4 separate regions of the Homo sapiens genome follow, and all the other regions are linked to region 1. The links are contacts of gene promoters, found by promoter capture Hi-C in blood cells and fetal thymus (Javierre and others, 2016). All regions are on one chromosome and are shown on one strand. The core of a region is centred on a gene start or on the middle of the fragment in contact, and the rest is flanking DNA. Distances in the headings are between cores, read along the strand shown.

The links. The method cuts DNA at HindIII sites, captures the fragments that hold promoters and counts their contacts. A CHiCAGO score of 5 or more calls a contact.
Region 2: a contact is called between a fragment that was not itself captured here and the fragment with the promoter of ATAD2B in region 1, in 7 of 17 cell types (megakaryocytes, naive B cells, endothelial precursors and 4 more). The highest score is 9.5, in megakaryocytes.
Region 3: a fragment that was not itself captured here is called in contact with the fragment with the promoter of ATAD2B in region 1 in 1 of 17 cell types (megakaryocytes); the score reaches 5.2 in megakaryocytes.
Region 4: a contact is called between the fragment with the promoter of MFSD2B here and the fragment with the promoter of ATAD2B in region 1, in 2 of 17 cell types (megakaryocytes and erythroblasts). The highest score is 10.5, in megakaryocytes.

The regions. Positions count from the first base shown.
Region 1 is chr2:23,924,039-23,929,004 of GRCh38, reverse strand. It overlaps ATAD2B (ATPase family AAA domain containing 2B), which reads left to right and starts at 1,882. Exons shown (of 28, transcript NM_017552.4): 1 at 1,882-2,450. The coding sequence starts at 2,235. It also overlaps a transcript of UBXN2A not described here. RefSeq lists enhancers at 1,356-1,445, 1,032-1,948, 2,706-2,755, 1,949-2,867, 2,966-3,215 and silencers at 1,616-1,945, 2,146-2,225. The HindIII fragment of the contact is 2,488 bases long and covers 1,387-3,874 here.
Region 2 is chr2:23,815,222-23,820,187 of GRCh38, reverse strand. ATAD2B (ATPase family AAA domain containing 2B) reads left to right here. Exons shown (of 28, transcript NM_017552.4): 17 at 306-441. Among named protein-coding and RNA genes, the nearest start is that of ATAD2B, 110 kb to the left of the region's middle. The HindIII fragment of the contact is 967 bases long and covers 2,391-3,357 here.
Region 3 is chr2:24,023,444-24,028,409 of GRCh38, reverse strand. MFSD2B (MFSD2 lysolipid transporter B, sphingolipid) reads right to left here. Exons shown (of 14, transcript NM_001346880.2): 12 at 4,684-4,827; 13 at 4,139-4,315; 14 at 1,635-2,978. The coding sequence ends at 2,954. Among named protein-coding and RNA genes, the nearest start is that of MFSD2B, 16 kb to the right of the region's middle. RefSeq lists a silencer at 3,997-4,291 and an enhancer at 3,962-4,947. The HindIII fragment of the contact is 2,162 bases long and covers 792-2,953 here.
Region 4 is chr2:24,008,118-24,013,083 of GRCh38, reverse strand. It overlaps MFSD2B (MFSD2 lysolipid transporter B, sphingolipid), which reads right to left and starts at 2,999. Exons shown (of 14, transcript NM_001346880.2): 1 at 2,892-2,999. The coding sequence starts at 2,987. The HindIII fragment of the contact is 4,987 bases long and covers 1,375-4,966 here.

The sequences.
Region 1 (4,966 bases), core at 633-3,132:
ACCAGCCTCTTTCCACAGGAATTGATACTTGTTTATGCTGCTCAGTGATGTGATAGCTACTTGACCCAGGAAAATCCAGGTATGGTTCCATTATGAGGAATCCCACCCATTAAGACATCAACTCTAAGTGGCAGGTGAAGTGTCCAGGAGAGGATGTGGTATGCAAATTGTGTCAGAAGGATTTATCTATTCTGGAATCCATACTGGTTCCCAAACAAAAAAAATTGTCATTTCCAGTGTTGTACAGTTTTTTGGAATGATTGGGAGCTTAGATGGCCAGAATGCTCTAAGTTTGATGCCATTTGGTCATTTTCAGGACTTTTCCTGAGTTTTCAATTTTTCTTAGTTTAATAAACAGTTTAATAAACTCCTGCCCAATAAACAGTAGGCTATGTCTAATGTACTGTGAATTTTATTTTTTTTTTTTTGAGATGGAGTCTCATTCTGTCACCCAGGCTGGAGTGCAGTGGCACGATCTTGGCTTACTGCAATCTCTGCCTCCCGGGTTCAAGCGATTCTCCTGCCTCAGCCTCTCAAGTAGCTGGGATTACAGGCATGCACCACGACACCTGGCTAATTTTTTGTATTTTTAGTAGAGAGGGGGTTTCACCATGTTGGCCAGGTTGGTCTCGAACTCCTGACCTCAAGTGATCCGCCCGCCTTGGCCTCCCAAAGTGCTGGGATTACAGGCGTAAGCCCGGCCTGTACTGTGAATTTTTGAAATGAACCTAATTCCTACTTTACAGCAGAGCTTTTCTTTCTTTCTTTTTCTTTCTTTCTTTCCTTTCTTTCTTCCTTTCTCTCTCTCTTTCTTCTTTTTTTTTTTTCTGAGACAGGGTCTGGCTCTGTCATCCAGGCTGGAGTGCAGTGGCGTGATTTCGGCTCACTGCAACCTCCATCTTCTGGGTTCAAGTGGTTCTCATGCCTCAGCTTCCCGAGCAGCTGGGATTACAGGTGCCCACCACAACACCCATCGATTTTTTGTATTTTTAGTGGAGACAGGGTTTCACCATGTTGGTAAGGCTGATCTAGAACTCTTGACCTCAGGTGATCCACCCACCCCGGCCTCCCAAAGTACTGGGATTACAGGCTTGAGCCACCGCACCCGGCCTACAGCAGAGCTTTTCATATGAATTGTGTGGCTTAATTTTTTTTTCTTTGGAAGTTAAATTGCAAATGCTTTATCTGTGGGTTCAGCTTTTTGTATTCTTAATTCTTCAGCGGGCCGGGGGCAGGGGGCGGCGATAGAGGCGGCTCTTACAGGGTACTCATTCTTTGGCTCCGCCTTAGATCTGGCTAAGGGGATAGAAAACGACCCTGCCTCGCTTTGTTTAAAAACGCAGAGTTCTAGCATGGTGTTTCCCCCCCCCCTTCTCTTCTTAAGCTTACCAAGTTCCAGATACCGCCCAGATGAATTTTTTTTTTATCACAGCTGTCATTCTCATTTCTACAGGCATGAAAAGTGCGACTCAAGTTCAGTGTCTTGCCTCGGGTAGCTTGGGGATTCCCAGTCAGCTCCTCGCGCCTTCGTCGCCGCTCCCCTTCCACCCCGCGCCTTCGCCGGCCGTCCCCTGCTCCATCCAGGCCACGGGGGTGACGGTGGGGTCTGGGGCATTCAGGCCTGGCTGGGCATGAGGGCTTCAGGCCCAATTCCACGCCCGAACTCGTCCTGATTAGTCTGGCTTTTCTGGTCGCCCCAGCCCTGCGGTCGGGGAGAGCTGGAAACCACCGAGCTGACAGCCTAGAGCGTCGCTCCCCGGCCGCCGAGCGCTGACGCCGCGCCGGGGGCGGGGCAGCTGGAGGCGGCAGGGAGAGGAGCGAGCAGCCGGGAAGGGCTGGCCGGCTTCGCAGCGCCCCGCCGTGGCTGCGGCCGGAAGCGGTCTCGTTGGCCCTGCGGCGCTGGAGCCTTGACGCACGGAGCTCGAGAGCGAGAACGGGAGAGAAAGGGGTAGAAATGGCGGCTCCGCTCGGCTCCCGCTGAGGAGGGCGAAGCCGGCGGAGTGTCTGTGCTGCCGGTCTGCAGCACCGCCCCCGCTTCCCGCACGCCGCCTGCTCACGCCGACTTCCCTTCCTCTGCCCGGCTCTCTCTTGTGCTCGTCTGCGCTCCGCACGCTCCGGGCCGGCTCGTCTCTCATTGCCCGGCTCGGCTCCGCTGGCCCTGACTGACCGGCCGGCGGGCCGGCCTTGCTCGGCTCTCCCGGGCGCGGCGTGGACTCCGTCCCCCTGGCTGGACCATGGTGAACACCCGGAAGAGCTCTCTCCGCCTTCTCGGGTCCAAGTCTCCTGGTCCCGGGCCTGGGCCTGGGGCCGGAGCAGAGCCTGGGGCGACCGGAGGCAGCAGCCATTTCATCTCCTCTCGGACCCGCTCCTCCAAGACCCGCGCCGCCAGCTGCCCCGCCGCCAAAGCCGGGGGAAGCGGTGGCGCCGGCGTCACTCTGGATGAGGCCAGGGTAAGAGCGCGGCGTCCCGAGTCCGGAGGCTCGGAAGTGCCGGCCCTGCTGCCGGGGCTTTGTCTGGCCGGGTTGGGGGTAGGAAGCCTACAGTGGAGACCGCTCGGGCGGCTGGAGACAGGGTCTGCGGGCGCGGTGGAGGGTGGCACCCAGAGAAGGGCCGCGACGCTGGCCCCTTTGCTTTTCAAGCTGGCCCGGCTCTTTTGTGTGAAGAACAGCCCTTGAGTCCAGGGGAGAGGGCTTTGGGGGTCCCTTTCGGCGTCATTCGAACGATCTGCTGTCCGTGTCCTTGTCCTGCCCCAGAGGGGAATTCTAGCGGGGAAGCAAGAGCGAAGGGCCAGAGCCCCTGGGTGGAAGGGTTGGAGAAGTGAAAGTTTTCTGCGGTGTCAAACCCTTCTTGAAAGTGTGTCAGTTCCTGCCGCTGTCTAACTCCAGCTTACTCTCAGTTTGGGGGTGGTTCAAGTTGGTGAGGAAGTGAACAGAGAGCTCCAGTTGGCAGCCAGGCAGGGATGCTGAAAAAAGTTTGTAGCTGCTCTGACACCAACTTTAAAAACAAAATCAACGCTATCGCCTCTCCAGGCAGGAGAGATCAAACATGATATTATAGCTGGGGAACCAGCCAGCTAGCTCACCAAGGTGCTAGTAGGAACCAGAGCTTTCAGGTCACAGAAGGAGCACGTCGAAAGAAACAAGTGGAATGTTTCGGATAGTCAGCACCATCATGCCAAAACTGTGTGGTTTCTTGGGTGTCTACATTTTTGTTATGGGACTATATTACAAAAGGTGAATGAACACCATAGTCATGCAGTTGCAAAAATGACATTTAAAGACGCTGGTGATTGAATTAAAAAACTGATTGAAAGATCTTGAAATTTTATTACCTACATTATAAAGCTAAGCACAGATATTTATTGTTTTAAAGGAATTGACACGTTTGTTTTACTATGAGATTGTTTCTGAATTCAGAGAAGAGTGTATTGCTTCTGTCTAAAAGAGGTTGACTTGCTAAGTAATTTGGCTGGAAAAAGCTGTTCATTTAAAATGCTCCTTTAATTCCACACCATTTTGTGGTTCTTATTGGGGGAAAGCAATATTTTATGTTCTAGGGGTCTACAAGATCGCGGTTTGTGTGTGCTTTTCTTTGTGTCTTACACTGTTTTGACACTAACAGAATGGATCTAGGCAGAGACAGGAATATTTTACCATACTACTCTGAAATATTTTTATTATATCTTTGAAAATCGTTTTGGCTTTTCTTTGATAAAATTTTGGGCATTATAACGTCCTATTTAATAGACTATTTTGGGGGCTTACAGCTCTCTTAGGTTGAAATAAGGTTAAATCTGAAAGTTGTGCAAACTGTTGAGAATAAGTACTTTGAAGACGAGGCTTTCGGTGGAAACTATTCCAAACATGTTCAAGCTTCTTGACCTACTGAGGCTATCACATATTTTAAAATAAAACTCAATTTAAGAAAAGATCTTTTCTGTACATTTAAGGACAAAGAAAATATTTAGGGTGTAAGCATTTAATCGTATCATGCTATGTGAATGCCTAGTCTGTTAGAGCAGTGTCTAACTCATCTGAAGCAATTAGCTCATCTTCACTCATCAGTTTGTGGTCCCATTTTTGAATTCATGGATATCATGCTGTCCTCACCCCCCGAGGAATAAGGTGAGGTAATTTGTCAAGCAGCTGTTATAGAGATGTTAAAAGGCTAGGAATCAATAATCTAATGAGGAAATGAACATTTGGTAGCTTTTAAATTGCTAAAAGAATGAAAGATATGAGAGCTCTTTGTAGAAGGGTACTAATGAAACTTTGTTTCAAAGATCCTTTTAAAATGTTTTAAAGCACCATAAATAACAGGGTACTAAAGATTTACTTTGAAATATTTGTTTTTCAGTCTTAAGAAGATTTATGTTCGGCTCTAGGAGATGATGTAGTCATCTAATTGCTTTCTCTGAAAGGTTTTTTTAGAGACGTAACTACTCTTACATAGTGATTGGACCTTTAGAAGAGGATAAATTATAATTCTGAATTTATTAAGTTTATGGACTATATATTTATGAAGCAGGTTGTATATTTCTGGTTAGCTCTTCTCCAGTTTTGTAGGAATTTAGCACTCCTGGTTCACCCTTTCTGGAGTACTTAAAGACACCCTCTATGTCTGTGGGGTCTGTAATAAGCATTTGCCAGTGTCTGTAAAGTCTCATTTGGTGCAAAATGGGGTTGCCCGTGTTGTTGCTTTCGCAGACCCTTATTTTTGTAGAAAGAAATGTATTCCTGTTTGTAACATAATATTCCTGTTTGTAATTGAGGAGTTTCTCCTTTTTCTGCTTTTGTGCCATGTTTGTTTGTTTGTTTTTTTTTGAGACGGAGTCTCGCTGTAGCCCAGGCTGGAGTGCAGTGGCGCGATCTCGGCTCACTGCAGGCTCCGCCCCCCGGGGTTCACGCCATTCTCCTGCCTCAGCCTCCCGAGTAGCTGGGACTACAGGCGCCCGCCACCACGCCCG
Region 2 (4,966 bases), core at 1,625-4,124, 110 kb after region 1:
TAGGTGGGATTTTATGAGAGTGCCACATCTTTTCCAGACTTGTTTTTTTTTTTTAAGCCAGTCAGTGAGTTCTTCCAAATTATATCTCATAACACTTAAGTAAATAGTCTGTAAAGGTGAAAGTGTTATATTAATTTTGTTTATAAGTTATTTTAAAAGCTGCAGTTTGTCAGTTTGCCTGTATTATTTGATAGATAACTTATTAATGTCATTTGATTTTTTAACCCAATTTTTCTTAGCTTTGGTAGGGCACGAATATTAAATGACTTTATAAGCCCCATAACCATTGTGATTTTTTTAAACAGATATAGAAACTTTAATTTTAGAGGATAGTGAAGATGAAAATGCTTTATCAATTTTTGAGACCAATTGTCACTCAGGATCACCAAAGAAACAGTCATCATCTGCTGCTATACATAAACCCTACCTTCATTTTACAATGTGAGTGATTTATATCAACTTTCTTTGTATTTAGAGTGATTTTTGATACTTTATGATTAGAATTATGGTATATTTTTACTTATGGTTATAACTGTGAGGATATTGTTTTTCTGTTGTTTGGACACAATTCTGGAAAACTTTTACTATGTATTCTTTTTCATGTGGTAATAGTTAGTTTGTTGGTTAACTACCTAGGTGTTTTTTTCTCCAAGTAGAAGAATCTTTCCTGCTACTTTACTTTTTTTTTTTTTTTTGGGAGGCAGAGTCTCACTCTGTCACCCAGGGTAGAGTGCAGTGGCATGATCTTGGCTCACTGCAACCTCTGCCTCCTGAGTTTAAGCTATTCTCGTACCTCAGCCTCCTGAGTAGTTGGGATTACAGGTGTGCGCTACCACGCCCAGCTAATTTTTGCATTTTTAGTAGAGATGGGGTTTCACTATGTTGTCCAGGCTGGTCTCGAATCTCAGGTGCTCTTCCCGCTTTGGACTCCCGAAGTGCTGGGATTATAGGCGTATGCCACTGTACCTGGCTAAGTTTACTTTTTTTTAAAGTAATGGTGTAAATTTTTTCCCCCATGGAGGCAGAGGAAAGCTTACCCTTAGAAAGTCAACTCATGAGCCCCAACTTTATTGCTTTTTCTTTAAACTAAAATGGGCAGAAATGAAATATTTGCCATGATCTGGAATACTTTAATTTGTAATAAACTTTAGATGATCATTTAGGTCTCTAAGGCTGCTAAAGAGATTTCGATTTAGAAATTGTTCAGTAATTAAATAACTTTTTGATTTTCTAGAAACATTATACTTGCATAATTTGGATTTTATGATTTTTCAATTTACATTTACCCTTTTATTATCTGTGTTAAAGCAAGTTTTGCTGTGCACTATAATAGGTAAACACTTTTAGTGCAAATGTAATTTTAAATTAAGAGGCCAAATAGTTTTCAAATACTAACAGCATCTTTACTTGCATTTACATAATTAGCCCCATAGTTGAAGGACCATAAAGCTTCAGTCAGGTAGATCTAATAGCACTTCTATTAGAAGAGGCCGGATTGTGTGTACTTTTAATATTTTGAACAAATTTAAGTCTCCAACTTGAAGTTTTCCCATGTAGATTTTGGTGAAATGTTGATTTGATTATTTGCATTGATAACCCTTTCTTGTTTTTCATTTTTAAAAATGAGCCTAAATTACTTTCATCTCCTCTTTTTTTCTTCATATGTTCTTTAATAGCAAACTCTTTGTAAGTTTTTTTCTTCTTCTCCAGATCCTTTCTTTTATGCTCTTGGGGAAGTTTTTTTATAGGCTATTCCAGCATTTTACAGATTTGTTTTATTGATAGTTATGGGAAAGCCAATTTTTTTTTTTTTTTTTTTTTTTTTGCTTTTCACCTGGCTAGCCTGTGCGTCTGTGTCTCTCTGTCTCTCTCTCTTTCTCTCTCTCTCTCTCCCCCCTCCCTCTCTTCTTCCCTCCCTCCCTCCGTCTCCCTCTCTTCTTCCCTCCCTCCCTCCCTCTCTTCTTCCCTCCCTCCCTCTCCCTCTCTTCTTCCCTCCCTCCGTCTCTCCCTCTCCCTCTCTTCTTCCCTCCCTCCTTCTCTCTCTCTGTGTGTGTGTGTGTGTGTAATGTGTGTGTGTGTGTGTGTGTGTGTAATGTGTGTGTGTGTGTGTTTATGTGTGTTTGACAGTTATAGTTATTTGGATTTGTATTATGTAGTAGCAGAAACTAAGTAAGTATCAAAAGACGTGTTTAATTTTATAAGATAATTGTCGTCAATAAAGGAATACAGAAATAGATTTTGATATTAGAAAGTATCATGTACAGTGTTAAGTTTGACTTTTTATTGAGGACATTTCCTGCCACTGATTTAATGTGAAACATTGGTATGGCTCATTTTGTTTTAGCTTTTCTGAAAGAATTGGTTTAATTTTAGCTTCCTTTACATAAGCTTTTCTAGTTCATTCATTTGACTTTGATTAAATAATGAGACAGCTATATGCTAGAATAAGCATTTTTTAGATGTTTTAATAATAATTATTCACTTATTTCTTTATTCACCTACCCATTTGTCCAATTTTTCTTTGTTTACCCTATGCCAGGCATTGTATGAGATGCTGAAAACATAAGCATGAATAAGATATAACATAGTTCTTACTTTGGAGAAGGTCTCATGGTTGGGGGTGACAAACATTTCAATATGGCGAAAGTGCTGTGAAAGCAGAACTAATTCTGCTGGAAGTCTGGGAAGGTTTCACAGGAGAAGTAGTGATATTTGCTGTCCTTTTCATTATGAAGGGATGGGAGTTTGCATCTGAGTGCTTTTTACAAATTAGATACTTGCTTGGTATGTAAAGATCTGTGCTTCATATTCAGTAATATATATAGGCCCCTTAACAATCATATTGCATTTGTGGTATCTTCATTTTATAGATGAGGAAAGTGAAGCACACAGAAGTTAAATAAATTGCCCATGATCCTGTTGCTAGCAGGTGGCAGAGCCAGACTCTGTGCTGTTTCCTAAGACCATATTTTTCCAAGTTATTTCTGAGCTTAATAAGTAGCTAGGGAATTGCATTGCTTCTTTAGGTAAGTTAAGCCATATATTTCACACTCTCCAAGAAGCATACACTTTAGAATTAAGGCCTTTAGTATGGGCAACATATAGTCTTTTTTGTTTGGTTGGTTTAGTTTTCTGTTTGAGCAAGATACGTTAGCATTACAGATCAATGCAGAAGAAAAGGTGCTCGGCCAGAATAAAGCATAACTTTAGTGCTGGTTTTCAGTCACACTAGCCTGGGTATTGCTGGTGAATTTCTGGGAATAGTCTCCTGAAACAATGTTGAAACCTTTTCTTTTTTACATTTAATATAAAGGAGAAGTCAAGATAGTTAAGGTTTACCAATCTGGTAGAGAAGCTTTATGATGGAAAATAAATTTTCTTTCTTACTTTATATTACCATAAGGGTGACTAGAAACAGAATTTTCTGAGGTTTTTCAAATGAAAATAGCTTTGTTTTTTCTGATTAGAAAGATGATATACACTGTAGAAAATTCAAGTAATAAAGAAGAGCATAAAGAAGAAAGTAAAAATTAAAGCCCCAGCACCTGCAGGTAATATTTGTTAAAGTTTTGGTGACCACACTTCCATGTCCTCTCTATGCATGTATAATGTATAGACCCATACATTATCTGGATTATATCCTCCTATAAGTTGTTAATATAACTTACTTTTTCATCCACTATGTTGGGAATATTATTTCATGTCAGTGTATGTTTAATATGACTGTTTTAAGATAGCTGCATATTATCTTACACTTTGGATATTCCATAATTTATAGACCCTTATTGGTAAAATTTGAAGTTTTCAAGTTTCTTCTTTTATGAACAATAGACTTGTTTCTAAGTATACATCTTTACACCACTATCTGATTCAAAGCATAAGGTAAATTTTAAGAACTGCAATTGCTGTGTCAAAGAGTGTATACATTTAACATGTTGACACAGATTGTTAAATTGCTTTCCAGAAGGCTTGTACTAGTTTACATTTCTCATACTAATGTATGAGAGTAGTATTTTTCTTATACCATTGTCAATTCTGAGCACTGTCTTTTAAAATCTTTACAAACCAGATAGATGAATATAATATCTTTTTGTTTAGTTGACTTGTTCATTTGTTCTTTCATATATTCATTCACTCATTCAAATGTTTTGTAAAAGTGCCCATCATGTTCCAGACATTGTCCTGGGTAGTTGGGGTAGGTCAGTGAACAAAATAGGGTAAGATCCTGGCCCTCATTTAACTTATATTTTTAAACAGAGGAGACATTCAGTAAAATAATAAATGTAATAGCTTGCTAGATAGATAAACTGTTAGAAGATAAGTACTATGGGGAAAAAATGTAGAAGATAGTAAGAGGCTGGGGAATCCCTAGGAGTGGAGTGAGTTATTGAATACTTTTGGGCATACATTTTGGCATATTTAGATCTATCACATATAATTTCAGAAAAGTTGTGCTTTTCTTCCACTAGTTGTGAGGATATCAATTTTGCCATCCTCTCATTGATAATGGGCATTACAATTAATTTTTGGTTTATTAATCTAACAGATAAAAGATGTCCATCATTATTTTCATTTATATTTTCTCATTTTTTAAAAATCTCTGTGTTAATGACTACCATTTTGTTCTCAAGCCTAGATTGCTCTTGAGCTTCAGACCCTGACCAGTGGCCCATCTCCCCTTTGTTGTACCATGGATCTTTCCGTACATAGCTGGACTGTATCATACGCCCCTTCTCTTCCTGTGACTCCTATGAGCCATCATTCATTCAGTTGTCTCAGCTAGAATTTGACATCATTCTCAACTTCTTTCCTTTTATTTCTTTCTTTGTCTAGTCAATGACCAAGTCTTTCTGATTTTTCTTACTAAGTAAGTCTCATCGCAGGCTATTCCTTCTTTCTCTAACACTATTCTTGTTGAACTGTCATTCACATGTCATGCCTGGGTTACTATAGCAGATGCCTGATT
Region 3 (4,966 bases), core at 623-3,122, 99 kb before region 1:
CAGGTTTTTTGTGTTCTTTTTTTGAGACAGAGTCTCTCTCTGTCGCCCAGGCTGGAGTGCAGTGGTGTGATCTTGGCTCACTGCAACCTCTGCCGCCTGGGTTCAGGCGATTCTCCTGCCTCAGCCTCCTGAGTAGCTGGGATTACAGGCGCCTGCCACTGTGCCTGGCTAATTTTTGTAGTTTTAGTAGAGATGGGGTTTCACCATCTTGGCCATGCTGGTCTTGAACTCCTGACCTCGTGTTCCCGCCTCGGCCTCCCAAGGTGCTGGAATTGCAGGCGTGAGCCACCACACCCAGCCGATAGGTTTTTTAATGCTAAACTTTGCATTCTTGGAATAAACCCAGTATGTTCATGGTGTATTTATTTTTTATACGTTGCTACTCATTTTGCTATTATTTTGTTTAAGATTCTTCCTTTCCCTGTTAATGGGTAAGATTAGCCCGTAAATTCTTTTTTTATTTTTGAGACAGGGGCTTGCTCTGTTGCCCAGGCTAGAGTGAGTGGCACTATCACAGCTCACTGCAGCCTCAACCTCCTGGCCTCAAGCAGTCCTCCTACCTTAGCCCCGCAAGTAGCTGGGACTACAGGTGTGTGCCACCACACCCAGCTAATTTTTTTAAAATTTTTTGTAGAGATAGGGTCTCCCTTTGTTGCCCAGACTTTTCTTGAAATCCTGGGCTCAAGTGACCCTCCCACCTTGGCCTCCCAGTGTCCCAGGATTACAGGCTTGAGCCATCACACCTGGCCTCTTTCCTTTTTAATGTGCTTGGCTGGTTTTGGTAAGAAGCTTACTCTGGCCTGATAGAATGAGTAGCAGAGTGTGCCTTCTTTTTCTGCTCTGTGGAGGAGTTTGTGTGAGGTAGGAATGATCCTTGATTGAAAGTTTGCTAGAACTTGGAAATATCATTTGGTCTCATGTTTTCTTTGTGGGAATATTATTATTATTATTATTATTATTTTATTTTTTTTTTTTGAGATGGAGTCTCGCCCTGTCACCCAGGCTGGAGTACAGCGGCGCGATCTCAGCTCACTGCAAGCTCTGCCTCCCAGGTTCATGCCATTCTCCTCCCTCAGCCTCCCGAGTAGCTGGGACTACAGGCGCCTGCCACAACGCCCGGCTAATTTTTTGTATTTTTAGTAGAGATGGGGCTTCACCATGTTAGCCAAGATGGTCTCGATCTCCTGACCTCGTGATCCGCCCGCCTCGGCCTCCCAAAGTGCTGGGATTACAGGCGTGAGCCACCGCCCCTGGCCCTTTGTGGGAATATTTTTAAATATTTATTTAATCCTTTAATATTTATGAGACTAAAAGGAGAAACTATTTTTTTCTGTAACCACAGAACACTTCTGACATCAGATGTGTGGGTTTTTCTACACCAAGCGATTCTTCAGTTCTCTATGGACATAACTGGGTACCCTACAATTTCATTCAGTTCTGATACTACCCAGAGTTAGTGCAGACCCAATAGGTTACGGGCTCAGTCCAACAGGCTGATCCCCACTTCCAATACCAGTTGCAAGTAGTGGGTCTCCAGGCGATACACACTTCTCTCCAGCTTGGCTGCAAATAGGGGATTCCCACAAAACCCTCCTCAGATTCGATAATTTCCTATAATGCATAGAACACAGAGAAACACTTTACTTAACATTTATTGGTTGATTATAAAATGAACAGCCAGCTGAAGAGGTATATAGAATGAAATCTAAAAGGGTCCCCTACACAAGAGTTTCTGTCCCCGTGGAGTGGGGTAGACCTCCTGGTACATGGATGTGTTCACCAACCTAGAAGCTCTCTGAAACCCTTCGTTTGGAAGTGGAGGCTCCATTACATGGGCACAATTGATTAAATCATTGATGATGAGCTCAGTCTTCAGCCCCTGTCCCCTCCCGGTAGGAAGATAAGGCTGAAAGTTTCAACCTTCTAATCACATGGTTGGTTTCTCTGGCAACCAGCCCCCATCCTCTGCCAGTCACATCATTAGCATAAACTCAGATCTGTTTGAAAAGGGCTTCTTATGTATAACAAAAGATGTTCCCCTCACCCCTACCACTCAGGAAGTTACTAGCATTTTAGAAGCTCTGTGCCAGGAACCTGGGGCAGAGACCAAATGTGTATTTCTTATGTCACAGGGACCATTTAGGATTTCTATATATTTATATACATACATATATATACTCTGTTCAGTTACGCTTGTTTTGAAAACCCAAATTTGTTCTAACATGGCTGTGATATTAGAGAATGAGTACAGCATAATGTGAATTTCCTGTTACTTACACACCAATTTTGTCCTTAAGAAATGCTAGAGCTGGGAACGGGGGCTGTGTCTGTAATCCCAGCTACTCAGGAGGCTGAGGCAGTAGGATCACCTGAGGCCAGGAGTTTAAGACCAGCCTGGGCAGGCCGAGTACGGTGGCTCATGCCTTTGGGAGGCTGAGGCGGGGCGGATCACGAGGTCAGGAGATCGAAACCATTCTGGCTAACACGGTGAAACCCCGTCTCTACTAAAAATACAAAAATTAGCTGGGCGTGGTGGCGGGCACCTGTAGTCCCAGCTACTCGGGAGGCTGAGGCAGGAGAATGGCGTGAACCCGGGAGGCGGATTTTGCAGTGAGCCGGCTGTAACGTTTTCTTGAATGGGTGGTAGGCCACAGATATTACTGGTCCACAAGCCAGGTTGGGCAGGAGCTTCCTTTTTCTAGAGACAAGTGCTACTGGGCTAGTCAGGGGCACAGGCCTATCTGAGATAGTCTGAAGGCAACAGACAAGAAATGCCAAGTGGGGTCCTGGAGTGCGGGCCAGTCCCTTCAGGACACGTTGCCGAAGACTCCACATCCCAGGGAGAAAGGTCACATACTAAACTGCCAGACCAGGTGCTGGAGGGCTGAGGAGGGCGATGTCAGGCCCCGAGGGTGCTGGCTCCTGTGTCCATTCACAGTCGCCCTCCTAAGCTTTAGGCCAGGCTGTAGCTGGTCCTCCTGTGGGAAGGGAAGGAAGCCAAGGAGAAGGATGGAAGTGGTGTGGGCCCTCTGTCCTGCCGCAGAAGCCCGCGGAAGGTTTGGTGGCTGCTCCTTGTCTTCCCAGCAACTCCTCTTCAACTCCTCCCCTCCCAAGTCCTGTAGATGAGCTACAACCCTGTTTCTCCAAGTGTCATCAAGCAGTTCCCCATCCGCCTGGCCTTCCCTGACTGGGAAGCATGCCCTCAGTATCTCTCTGCTGCAGAGCCCGAGGCCGTCACCCTCAGCAGGGAGTGGCTGATGACAAGGCCACCCACTGCCTGTCCCGCGTGGGCCTGCATGATATGTGCATGCTCGTGGACCTTACTTGTGTGAACATTGGGTGCTTGTGCACGTCTGCTGGACCAGACGTGGTGATGCTGCAGCAGTGATTCCTGAGTACCTGCTTGGCCTCAGGCTCTGTGCTGGGCTCTTGGGATACAAAAAGGAATAAAACAGCCAGCCTCAGCCTTCAAGGTTCCCATAGCCTCCCCGGAAGGTCAGACAGTGAGTAGATCCTCCCCGTCAGTGGGGTCGGTGTTCTGGTAGGGGAAGGACCAGGTCAGAGACCTGCTCAGTATTGCCCGTGGGAGGGAAGAGCAGAAGACTCCTAGGCTTCCACCCAGAGGGAACGATGGTGTCATTCACCAAGACAGGGACACAGAAGGAGGAGCCAGTTAGGGGGACAAGATGAGTTCCATTGAGGCTCATCGAGACTGAGTGCCAGGCTTGTGGGCTACTAGGTGGAAATGTCCACATGCCAGTGATATGCGGCTGTGGAAGTTGAGGGAAGCACAGGCTGGAGGGGCAGCTCTAGCAGTCACCAGGCACAAGGAGTGCCTGAGTTGGGTCAGGCTAGCAGAAGAGGTACCAAGGGGGCTTTGGAGAGCAAAAGCAATAGGAGATCAAGGAGTGAGCCCTCACATACCACAGTCTACCAGGTGATCAAAGGAAGAAGACTGAGAAGGGGTGGCCAGAGTGGGAGAAGAAAATCCAGGAGAAAAGGGTGACCCTGAGCTAAGGAAAGAGGTCCCAGAGGCAGGACTGTGTGACACAGCAGGGATGTCTGCAGGCTGGTGTTAGTCATTCCCCCAGCAGCCCACACTGTGCCTCGCTGGCTGCAGGGGGCGTGCGGGGCTTACCTCCGAAGGCTCAGCCGGCTGGAGGCGTCCCGACTGGGTGTCTTTGGAGTGGAGCCGACCATGAGGATGCAGAGCCCAGCAAGGATCATGCAGGTGGGCACGGCGCCAATGAGGACTTTGAGGGTGACCACCACCTCCTCTGCTTGCTTGCAGACCCCTGCCTTATACCCCGAGAACCTGGAGAAACATCAGCCAGCCATTAGGGCAGGGCCTGCTGAGCCTGGCACCCTGGGTGGAGGGACTCGACACCTCACCCCACCCCACCCCCTCCTGAAACGTGGACTTCATTTCCTGGTCAGATCAGGAGAGGAGTGTCAAGGTGACAGGCTGACCTGGGAGAGTTTAGAGGGAACTGAGAATAGGGGAGCTGGCCCTCTCAGTCTCATGCACAGAGAAACCTGGGGAAGTGGTTCCCCACACTCTCCAAAGAGTAGCGCTTAGGCCCCAGGCTCATGGATGCCCTGAGCTTGGTAGGTGAGGGGCTTTGCCCTCTTCCTGCCCACTGGTCCTTGGTGCCTCTGCTGTATCCTAACCCTGGGACTCACTCCAGACTGAGGGTGGAGATGCCCAGGGCACATGCGCCAGACAGCTTGGTGAAGAAGACGTAGGAGGAGTAGAAGATGGTCTCCAGGCCTGGCCCGTGACGGTGCTGCAGCTGAAAGTCATCCACCACGTCTGGCAGCATGGACCTGCGGCGGGGGTGTGGAGTTAGCCCTCCTAGCCCCTTGGCCACCAGCAGCCTGTGAATTCTCTGGGGACGGAGGCCAAAGTGGATTCATCCCTGAGTTCTGTGCCCAGGACCAGACTGGCCACCAGAGAAGCAGATGG
Region 4 (4,966 bases), core at 1,750-4,249, 83 kb before region 1:
ATTTCCAGGGGGGAAGTTCTTCTGGACATCTTACCCTGGGCTTCCTGCTGAAGCCGCCATCATTTACTGAGTCAGCACGGCCGTGTAAGCTGCAGGTCAGGAGACCTGGGCTTGAGCCTGCCTTTGTCACCTACCCCTCTATGTGACCTTGAATAAATCACATCATCTCTCTAAGCCTGTTTTCCTCATCTGTCAAATGCAACATCCCTGCCAACTTCACAAAGTTGTTTCTTCGATGAGTAAATGAGGCGATAGCTCATTTACCCATAGCCTGCCTACCCACAGCCCTCCAGGGATGCCTGGCAGGCGTCTCAGCTTAGCATGGTCTACATACAGCTCCTGATGGCCATTCCATTGTCTAATCCAGCTCCTAGCAAATGGCACCGCTGGTCCCCTCAGTGGCTCAGGCCACAAACTTAGGAGTCATCTATTCTTCTTTCCAGTTCTTGTCTATCAGTGAATGCCTCCTAAGTGGCTTCTGTGTCTGCCCTTGCTCCCTACAATCCACTCCACCCAGCAGCCAGTGCTCTTGTAATAACATAAATCGCACAGTGGCTCATCCCTATAAACCCAGCACTTTGGGAGGCCGAGGTAGGTGGATTGCTTGAGCCCAGGAGTTGAAGACCAGCCTGCCCAACATGGCAAAACCCCATCTCTACTAGAAACACAAAAATTAGCCAGGCATAGTGGCCGCCTGTAATCCCAGCTACTCAGGAGGCTGAGGCAAGAGAATTGCTTGAACCAGGGAGGCAGAGGTTGCAGTGAGCAAATATCACACCACTGCACTCCAGCCTGGGTGACAGAGACTCAGTCATAAATAAATAAATAAATAATCAGATCCCATCTCCTCTCTGATTAAAACTCTCCAATGGCTTGCTATTGCAGGGTTTTTTTGTCTGTTTTTGTGTGTGTGTGTGTGTGTGTGTGTGTGTTTTGTTTGTTTGTTTGTTTGTTTCCAGATCCATGGTATTCAGTCAATACCATTGCAGTTTGAATAAAACTCCAAGTCCTGATCATGGCTAAGGAGTCCACCCAGTCGGCCCCCTACCCACCTCACCTCAAATAGCTCTCCTTCAGCCACGCCGGGCTCCTTCCTATTCCTCAAAATCATCAAGTCTGTTGCTGCCTCAGGGCCTTTGCCCTTCCCATTCCTCTGCCTGGAAGGTGACTCCTTGTCATTCTGGTTTGATGTCACCAGCTTAAATGTCACCTCCTCCAAGAGGCATTCCCTAACCTCTCACCTCTCTCAGTTGTACTTACCGCCTGCTATATTTTCATTTAGTTCCTGCCTCTCCCTACAGGAATGTAAGCTCTCTGAGAGCATGAACTCCACCTTTTATTTATCATGGTGTTTCCAGTACCTAGAACAAAGCTTGGTATACAGTAGGTGCTTAGTATATATCCGTTGAAGCAATAAATGGCCATGAAGACCCTGTGTAAAGTGCTGTTTCTTTGGAAGAAGCTGGGCTCTTTTCTCATCGTTTGCTGGGGGCTGGAGGGAGTGGAGATGACATGGCTTCACCCATTTCCACATCTTGCAGGACACCCCAGCAGGCTCTTGTGAAGGGAAGGTCTCCCCAGATAAGGGTTTATCACACTTTGCACACTCTTCCTACCCACAGGGGAAAACCACACTGGGGGCAGGATGATTCTTTTCTGACATTTGTGTGAACATCATTTCAGCTTCCAGAAAACTTTAAGAACAGGCAGAATTCAACGTGACAGTCCCCCTCTCCCCCTAATGGGGACTCTTGTATCCCCCAAAACAGGCCTAGCAAGTTTTTAGAACTTTAGAAAGAACTTCCAAGTGAAGCCAGGGATATGATCCCATCTTGCCGTCTTGAGGATGACAGTTTTACCGAAAGTCATAAAAGCCCGGTACAGCTGTACAGTGAGCTGTACAAGGAGAAGCCCCTTGGGAGGGGCGGCTCCGGGCGAGGGGCGCAGCCCTGCTATCTCTAGCTGCGTGACCCAGGGCAGGGCACCTCGGTCTCCTTGGAGTGACCGGGGCTGCCACCCCTCGGAGAGTCGTAAGAGGATTCCACGCCGGAACTTCATCAGCAATGCGAGTGTTTCCCTCTTGCTGTTAATCTCACCCTGAATTTCTAAGTTTCCCTGGGAAGTGAGAGTCCCCGGAGAGCCCCTTCATCTCACCTCACTTTCTTGTGGGATGCAATCCTGTGCTCCCAGGTGCCTCGTAGGAAGCCCTGAACAGGCTGGGGGCTGAGGTGGTCAGGGGAGGCCACAGAATGCCCTGGGCACGAGCAGGGAGCAGGCGCGTTCAGTGAGGCCCAGGAAGCCCCAGGCCCCTTGCTCCGTCCAGCACAGCCCCACTGGCCAGCACGGCCCGGCGGCATCGGGCAAGGGACAAGGGGCCCCGAAGACCCCGCCGCTCCCACCTGCCCTCCTCCCTTCTTGTCGGAGCCCATGGCCAGGACCTTCCCTGAGGCTGCCTCCAAGGGGAGCCTGGTGCCTGGGCGAGGCCAGGGTCTGGGAGGGAGGCCGAGGCCACAGCAGCTGCCTGAGGTCGGGAAGGACGCAGCCTCCCCAGGCGCTTCAGAAAGCCCTGCCTGCCCAGAGCTCGGGGACCCCGGGAGGACCTGCGGTGGCACGGACAAGACCCCTAAGCCGGGAATCAGGACAGCAATGACCACGCATCCCCAAGTTACTTCCTTGGCTAGGGCTAGGCTTCCCGTCCTAGTCTCTTTCCGGCGCCGGCACCTACCAGCCTCCCCGCTCCCAGCCGTGTAACCCCGCGAGGGCAGCCCCTGAGCTGGCAGGTTTGGGCCGAGCCCCTCCGGGCTGCCCCCAGCTGGAAAAGGGGCTGCGAGGCGACGCCCTGGAGCTCCCCGAGGACGCAGCCCCTTCCCGGTCCCCGCCGCCCCGCTCACCTCTCGCCCTCGCTTGGCGCTCCCCGGGCCGGGCTCTGGGGCGTGCGGCTCCGGCTGCGGGGACCCCTTGGCGGCTGGTGCAGGGGGCGCCGCCATTGCCACCGCAGCGCCGCCCGCGGCCGTTGCCCTCGGGGTTATCGCCCTTGGGAGGGGCGGTTCTGGGCTAGGGGCGCGGCGCGAGTGGCTGCTGGCAACGCGGGGGAAACGCAGAAACCGCGAAGGGCACCCCAAAGGGAAACAGCGAAGAACCAAAATCCGCGGGGGGAAAGGCCCGGCAGGCCCTCAGGACCGTTCTCCTTGGGGTGGATCCCCGGGGGCGTGAGCGCCCGCAGACGGCGGCCCTGCGCGCTAAGGGCTCCGCCAGACCGCTGGGGTGACCGCGGGCAAGCAGCAGCTCCCCTGCAAAATGAAGCAAGAGGCCCGCTCGTTCAGGCTGGACCATGGCTGAACAGGCATTCCGCCGGCTACACATGATGCCCAACGCCTGAAATATACATTGTCGAGTCTCCTATACAGACCACGGGGATGGCCAGTAACTAAGTTCTGGCCAGCGAATAAAAGCAGGTGGCACAGGCCAACATTCCAGAAAAGTCCTTAAAAGGGAAGGGGGGTGACAGCAGGTAGCTAGTCAGCCTCGAAAAGGGCAGGAGAGGGCCACGCTTCCAACCAGGTACGTCAGGCAACCATCAGGCGACAGTCAGGCGGTTGTTATGCTCCCTCTAAAATGATCATTGATCCAGCGGGGCCAGGGAAAGGCAGTCTCCCAATAGATAGAGAAAACCTGAAACTGGTGATCAGCTTCTCGGTAAGATCTCAGGAGCTGGGCAAGTGGGCTTACACAAATTGCGGAGTTTAACTGACATGTGACCCTCGAAGGACACCGGACTGGTAAGGGAAGAACGCCTCCAGTGAGCATGGGTACAACTCCAGTATACACAGTGTGCACACTCCCCTCCCAAGTGCTGGCAGACCACTGCCCATGCAGGCAGGCCTCCCAAGGGAAGAATCAGGGGAGAAGGGATGCAAGACCCCAGAAGTATGCCAATGCATAAGACCCCAGGTCAAAAGGTCAAACTGTGCGCTTCTTTTTCAGGTCACCCGCTTGGCCCTCTTCCAAGTGTACTTTCCTTCCTTCCATTTCTGCTGTAGAGCTTTTTAATAAACTTTTATTCCTGCTCTAAAACTTGCCTCAGTCTCTCCTTCTGCCTTATGCCCCTCAGTGGAATTCTTTCTTCTGAGGAGGCAGGAACTGAGGTTGCTGCAGACCCATATAGATTCACTCCTGCTGACATATTTTGGTGCCACGTGACTCAGATACCTTCCACCAGTAACAGGGGTACACATTAACTAAAAATGCATCATAGACCTAGAATGTAAAACTTATGAAAAAACAGGAGCAAGGGACAGGCACGGTGGCTCATGCCTGTAATCCCAGCTACTCGGCAGGCTGAGGCAGGAGAATCGCTTGAACCCGGGAGGCGGAGATTGCAGTGAGCCAAGATCGTGCCACTGCATTCCAGCCTGGGTGACAGAGGGAGACTCTGTCTCAAAAACAAAAACAAAAACAAAACCAACCAAACACAAAAAACCCAGAAGCAACTCTTCATCATATTGGGCCAGGCAATTGTTTCTTAGGACGCCAAAAGCACAAGCTGGATGAACTACAAAAGTTTTCAAAATGAAAACCTTTGTGCTGTAAACGATTCCAACAAGTGGGTATAAAGACAACCCACAGAATGGGAGAAAAGGGATTTGTATTGGAATCAACTTTCACAACTCAACAATTAAAAGACAATCCAATTCTAAAATGGGCAAAGAATTTGGATATTTCTCTAAAGATATACAAATGAACAGTAAGCACATGGAAATACAAATCGAAACTACAGTGAGACACCATTTCATATCCACAGGGTGGCTGTAATTAAAATGAGACAAGTATTGGGGAGGATGTGGAGAAATCAGAACCCCTATACACTGCTAGTGGGAATGGAAACTAGTGACAGTCCTTTGGAAAAGTTTGGCAGTTTCTCAAAGTAAAACGTGGAATTACCACATGACCCGCAATTCCACTCTTA